Linked DNA regions of Homo sapiens: region 2 is linked to region 1. Evidence: promoter capture Hi-C in 16 types of primary human blood cells and fetal thymus (Javierre and others, 2016). All regions are on one chromosome and are shown on one strand. Each heading gives the region's core, a stretch centred on a gene start or on the middle of the fragment in contact. The rest is flanking DNA. Distances are from core to core; before and after follow the strand shown. Region 1 holds the start of ANKRD26 (ankyrin repeat domain containing 26). Region 2 has its middle 110 kb from the start of GAD2.

Region 1 (3,527 bases), core at 263-2,762:
GAGAGAGTCGTGGTCTCCATCCAAGAGTCTCCACTCCAGAGGCAGTGGTGTGAACCTCTGCCTCCCAGGTTCAAGTGTTTCTCCTGCCTCAGCCTCCCGAGTAGCTGGGACTACAGGCATGCACCACCACACCCAGCTAATTTTTGTATTTTTAGTAGAGACGGGGTTTCACCACGTTGGCCTGGTCTCGAACTCCTGACCTCAGGTAATCCACCCACCTCGGCCTCCTAAAGTGCTGGGACTTGACTAGCTTCATAGATCACCTTGGGGAGTGTTGAGGAGACAACATAACTTTCTAGCTGGGGTAGTGTAGGAGGAAAATTCTTGGTGACGATAGTGGAAACCACTCTCCCACATCAAAACCATTTGATCTAGCTAAGCTGGAGAGGCCTGAGAAGTGTTGTTTTGTTTTTGCTCATTTCTCACTTGGCAATAAAGACGCCTGTTCTGGGGCCAGCCACCTCCTCCACAAGGGACCCTAGAGCTGTCCAGAGCTATGGAGGTGCATTCCAGCAGCAATTTCTGCTGAGACTCCACTTGACGTCTGCGTTGCTAATTCCAATTTGTTGTCAAATTATTCAATCTAGGCTGGGCGTGGTGGTTCACACCTGTAATCCCAGCACTTTGGGAGGCTGAGATGGGAGCATCATTTGAGCCCTGGAGTCGGAGACCAGCCTGGGCAACATGGTGAGACCCTGTCTCTACAAAAAATGCAAAAATAGCCGGGCGTGGTGGCTTGCGTCTGTAGTCTCAGCTACTCACTCAGGAGGCTGAGGTGGGAGTATCGTTGAGCCCAGGAGGTGGAGACTGCAGTGAGCCGTGATTGCACCACTGCACTACAGTCTGGGCGACAAAGCGAGACTCTGTTGGGGAAAAAAAAAAAAAAAAGAAGAAAGAGATGTAACCTTGGAAAATCAAAAGCAAAAAATAAAACATAAGGCTGGGCCAAAGGCAGAGGGGTGGGGGAAGGAGGCATGCAGAAATGCGTTCTCATTTCTTCTGGAGAATGTGCATTGGTTTCTCCTCGTAAGTTTGCACTTGACACATATTGCCACGATCTCCGAAATCCTGTGCCCTCTGCACTTGACACATATGCCACGATCTCCGAAATCCTGTGCCCTCTGTTGTTGCATCTGTTAAGTTCTCATGGAGACCAGATGGCACCCAAAGGGACATGGAAGGGGAATAAACTGAGAGATAGGGAGATTCAGAGAGTTTCTTAGGGGAGTTTTCTCGGAGAAGAGGCTTTCAGCATCTTAAAACTCCACGCTACTCCAGTCCCAGTCATGCGTAAAGGCTGCTTCCCCACAGGCGCGAGGCTTCTTTTCGCAAACGTCCTGAACACTCAGCCAGACTCCCACCGACATTTGTTTGACAGGAACGCAGGGCTCGTCCCAGTCGCCGAGATTTGCGAGGTCTGGGCCTTGCACATGCGCATGGAGCACACTTGACCACTGGGCCTTCGTGCGCACGCGCGTGGACCTTGCCATCTGAGGTGCGCATGCGCACTTGTGTCTAGCGGGATCGCTTGCTTGGTAACCCGGAGGGAGAGATTGGAAACCGCGGAGTTTCCTTTGGGAGGCTGCGGCCAGCCGGGGCTGACTTGTTATGTTGGGCTCCGGAGGCCGTTAAGAGCCGAGAGAGACATGAGGTGTCTCTGAAGCCCGGTCGCCTGGGCCATGAAGAAGATTTTTAGTAAGAAGGGCGAGTCGCCCTTGGGCTCCTTCGCGCGGCGGCAGAGGAGCAGCGCGGGAGGCGGGGGCGAGCCGGGGGAGGGCGCCTACTCGCAGCCCGGCTACCACGTCCGAGACCGAGATCTCGGCAAGATCCACAAAGCTGCCAGCGCGGGTAATGTGGCGAAAGTGCAGCAGATCCTTTTGCTCAGGAAGAATGGCTTGAACGATAGAGACAAGATGAACAGGTAATAGGCGTCGCAAGCCCGGACTGAGTGCCACTGGAGTAGGCGGGCAGGAAGAGGGGCCCCTTTTGTGGGAGCCACCCAGGGCCTGGATCAGCCTCCCGCGGGCTCCGTAGCCCCTGGGACGGTGACACCTTGCAGGGCTCCAGCGCCCAGGCCGCCTTTCTGAGCAGAAAAACAAAAACAGAACTCTAGCTGGTTTCCGATCCCCCCGAAATCCCTTAGAGAGCACTTAAGTGACAATTTTAAAGTGAATTAACGAACAAAAGCACGTACAGCGTTTTATTTTTAATGTACACATTTAAGATACAATGTCATACACTTATGGAAAGGTGCATAATGAGATAAGCAGTTTCCATAATATAGCAACTTCTGGGTTAAAAATTATTTCTATAAAATCTGTTATTCGTCAGGCGCGGTGGCTCGCGCCTGTAATCACAGCACTTCGGGAGGCTGAGGCGGGAGGATTGCTTGAGGCCAGGAGTTCAAGGCCAGCCTGGGCATTATAGCGAGACCCCCCCCCCCAACTCTAATAGTCTCAGCTACTTGGAAGGCTGAGGCAGGAGCATCACTTGAGCCCAGGAGTTCTAGGCTGCAGTGAGGTATGTCAGTGACAACAGAGCAAGACCCTATCTTTCAAAAAGAAAAAGAAATAAAATGCCTTTAGGAAATAGATATACAAGTAATTTGTTTTTCTCAGCATTGCTTAAGCAGTGTATTAAGGAGAACCCATAGAATGGATTTTGTGAATAAATGTCAGTGCATGATAATATGTGACCATTGAAAGTGGCAGTAGAGGCCAGGCGTGGTGGCTCGCGCCTGTAAACCCAGCATTTTAGGAGACCAAGGCAAGCGGATATCCTGAGGTCAGAAGTTCGAGACCAGCTTGGCCAACATGGTGAAACCCCGTCTCTACTAAAAATACAAAAATTAGCTAGGCATGGTGGTGGGAGCCTGTAATCTCAGCTACTCCGAAGACTGAGGCAGGAGAATCGCTTGAACCTGGGAGGCAGAGGTTGCAGTGAGCCAAGATCGTGCCATTGCACTCCAGCCTGGGCAACAAGAGCAAAACTCTGTCTCAAAAAAAAGAAAGAAAGAAAAGAAAGTGGCAATAGATACAGAAGTGTATTGGCATGTGAGGATATACTTTGGTATCTCAAGTGAGAAAAAAAGTTTGATTATACATACAGACTGTGGTCTTGTGTTAGCTGAAAATATGTACAAAACGTGGTAAAATTTGGCCAGGCGCGGTGTCTCACGCCTGTAATCCCAGCACTTCGGGAGGCCGAGGCGGGCGGATCACGAGGTCAGGAGATCGAGACCATCCTGGCTAACACAGTGAAACCCCGTTTCTACTAAAAATACAAAAAAATCAGCCGGGCATGGTGGCGGGCGCCTGTAGTCCCAGCTACTCCGGAGGCTGAGGCAGGAGAATGGCGTGAACCCGGGAGGCGGAGCTTGCAGTGAGCGGAGATCACGCCACTGCACTCCAGCCTGGGCGACAGAGCAAGACTCCGTCTCAAAAAAAAAAAAAAGTGGTAAAATTTGTTATTTCTGGGCATTTGTATAATAAGTCAAACTTTTTTCTTTATGATTTCTGCAATGAGTA
Region 2 (3,355 bases), core at 312-2,811, 770 kb after region 1:
GTGTCTGTAACTCACTTCCATTTTCTGTACATCACTTCCCTTTTTCTGTCCATAAATATTCTTCCACCATATGTCTCTGCTGGAGTCTCTGAGCCTTCTCTGGCTCAGGAGGCTGCCTGATTTGCAAATTGTTCTTTGCTGAATTAAACTGCTTTAAATTTAATTCAGCTAAAGTTTTTCTTTTAGCAAGTCCTTTTTATTTTTTAAGAAAAAACCCAGCATATTTATATTCATCAAATAGATGCTACCAAATGAGAAACAATTTGTACAATGTTTTTTATTTAGCCAACAAGACATCTTTTCTCTTGTTTTATCTTTAGGATGATGTTTATCCCAATCTTCAAATTATATCCTATCTCTTTATAAATTACTCTGTTCAGAACATGTTAAAAATACACTTGATTTCATGACAGCACATTAAAGAAGAAGCCTGCAATCTGGGTTTTCTTACTTAAGAGGTAAACAGTATAGTTTTGAAAATTATATTGAATAAAATATATTTTGGAATTTCTTGTCACCATCTGGAACACTTTTATAAGGAAACTCAGTAAAACACAGAAATGAATATATATACAGATATATTTATATATTGAATATTTATATACATATTTGAATATATATATATATACACACATATATGAATATATATAGTGGTTTCCACTTTCCCAAAAGAAATAGTAGCTGGGAGCATGCTTTTGCTGAGTTCCTATTCTAGACTTGACACATCATCATGAGTAAGTGACATTGTTGTCCACTCTCAGGTGCCTTCCACTCAGTTTTGATGTCTGTCATCCATGTCTCTTAACTTTTCTTTCATTCTTTTATCTTTTATCCTTCAAGGCCACTGGTTGGTTCTTCATTCCCACTTTGCTCTTTAATTTATTCTGGCGAATGCATTCCTGCAACTATGATATTTTTCATGCCCTGTGTCACCAGTTGATCTCCCTTCTGTAACTTTTTCTTCTTGCCTCATGTTTTCAATACCTGTCTTTATCTCTTTGAGGATAGTTCTAGGCTTATGTTTAAGTCTTAGTCTGCCTGGGGTATTGATTTTTCATTTTCTAATATAGATTGTCCCATTTAATGTTTTTTTTTCCTAGTGCCCATGCTCCCCAGTGTCTCATTAATTTTTCTTAGGAGTTTTAAAGTCAAAACTAGCCACCTTGGTTTGTCAAGGGTTCCATGACCTGGGATCTCCTAGACTTACTCTTTTATATTAAATGAATGATAAACAGATACTTACATGAATAAGATATATGAATTAACTTTTAAAAAGCAATAAAATAAGGTCAAGGAAGTGTTGGTGATGATTTGGGAGGTGGGGGCAATCCCTGCACAGAGTTCAAATCTGTATCAATTTGTACTCTGCTTATCTGAGTACAAATTGATACAGGTTTTCTGTGGGGAAATTTGGCCATGTGTACTAAAAACTTTAAAGATGCACCCACTCTTTGATTAAAAATGTCTTCTTTGGCTAGGAGTGGTGCCTCCCATCTGTAATCCCAGCACTTTGGGATGCCAAGGTGGGAGGATCACTTGAGCCCAGGAGTTCAAGACCAGCCTGGGCAACATAGGGAGATTCCCCATCTCTATAAATAATTTAAAAATTAGGCCGGGTGCAGTGGCTCATGCCTGTAATCCCACAACTTTGGGAGGCCGAGGCAGGTGGATCACCTGAGGTCAGCAGTTCGAGACCAGCCTGGCTGGCCAACAAGGTGAAACCCTGTTTCTACCAAAAATACAAAAGTAGCCAGACTTAGTGGTGGGCGCCTGTAATCCCAGCTACTTGGCAGGTGAGGCAGGAGAATCATTTGACCTGGGAGGCAGAGGTTGCAGTGAGAGGAGATCACACCATTGCACTCCAGCTGAGCAACAAGAAACTCTGTTCCAAAAAAAAAAAATTGCTAGGCATGGTGGCATGCATCTGTGGTTGCAGATACTCAGGAGGCTGAGGTGGGAGGATCACTTGAGCCTGGGAGGTTGAGGCTGCAGTGAGCTGTGTTAGCGCCACTGAACTCCAGCCTGGGTGGCAGAGTGAGACTCTGTCTCCAAAAAAAAAAAAAAAAAAAAAAAAAATCTGCTTCAAGAGTTCACATTAAAAAAGTAATTAGTCCAGTGTGTGAATGTGTGCAGGCAAGGATATTCATTGTAGTATTCGTTTTCATAGAGAAAGATTGCCCAGATGAATTTCAGAAGGGAATAGAGGAATCTGATTCATTGATTCTTCAATGAGCTCCCTCTCCTCTGTGTGTCCTTGGCCATTAAAATATATATATATATATATATGGTGGCTTTGAGAATGAAGGAGGTCTTTCTCTCTGAACTTGAGCTCCTTTGTAGTTTCAAATCAAAACTTATCCCAGGATCAAAAGTTCTAAACCTGTGATTCTATGACCCTCTGAGGTCTATGACTCAGCTTCTAGGACTCTGTGAAGTAGGCACAGGATACCTGTCTTCATTTTATTACCGATGTTTTGAAAATCATAAAATGAAACAAAACCAAAAACTTGCTTTCATCTCAGCTACATGAAGAAAATTAATATTTGGTGCATTGAAATATTTTGTTTATATCCTTTCTCTTAGAGAGGGCCTCATAGCACTAATGTCAATCTCAAAGGGGTTCATGATTCAAAAACATCAGGAATTCATGCCATAGACCATCATGGCATGTCTAGTACTTACTGAATTCATATATTACCAATTTAGCTATCTCTAGTGGAGACCCTTCAGGGCAATGTTAACATAACTTTTGATGTGGAAAATTAAAAAAATCTCTCAACAAATTGCTATGTTTGATCAGATTCGTTTACATTTTTGCTAATTGTATTCTTGTCATATTTTTTCTGTCTGTCTGGATTTGTCACTCAGTTTTAAAAAAACGCTTACTTTCTCCCTTTCTTTCAAATGTGATGATCGGCAGATTTTATATCCATAGTTGTATGATCTGGACACCCTAGGGTTGAGGTGAATTCTGAGCCTAAGATTTATTTACATATTTTCCAGTTTTCCACCTGCACTATATCCAAGCAAACCTTTCAGTTTCCCATATTTAATATACTTAGTGATTAAGACATTTTCAAATAAGTTGGTATAAATACTCCTTTGGTTCCAACAACTCAAAAGGCACTCATTTTTGCCAGCAATCAATATTTCTAATCCGATGGGTCCATATGTGCATTCAGAGTTCTCTTAGGTGTACTTTTTCTTTTTTTTTTTCTTTTCTTTTTTTTTTTTTTTTTTGAGATGGAGTCTTGCTCTGTCACCCAGGCTGGAGTGCAGTGCTGTGATCTCTGTTCATGGCAACCTCTGCCTCCTGGGTTCAAAGGATTCTCCTGCCTTGGCATCCCAAGTAGGT

What was found. Contacts are between HindIII fragments. The CHiCAGO score rates a contact against its expected background, and 5 or more counts as called.
Region 2: a contact is called between a fragment that was not itself captured here and the fragment with the promoter of ANKRD26 in region 1, in 1 of 17 cell types (neutrophils). The highest score is 6.1, in neutrophils.

Annotation. Positions count from the first base shown.
Region 1 is chr10:27,098,479-27,102,005 of GRCh38, reverse strand. ANKRD26 (ankyrin repeat domain containing 26) reads left to right here and starts at 1,512. Exons shown (of 34, transcript NM_014915.3): 1 at 1,512-1,921. The coding sequence starts at 1,680. RefSeq lists a silencer at 1,666-1,845 and an enhancer at 2,016-2,075. The HindIII fragment of the contact is 14,700 bases long and covers 1-3,527 here.
Region 2 is chr10:26,323,737-26,327,091 of GRCh38, reverse strand. No RefSeq gene overlaps it. Among named protein-coding and RNA genes, the nearest start is that of GAD2, 110 kb to the right of the region's middle. The HindIII fragment of the contact is 4,363 bases long and covers 1-3,355 here.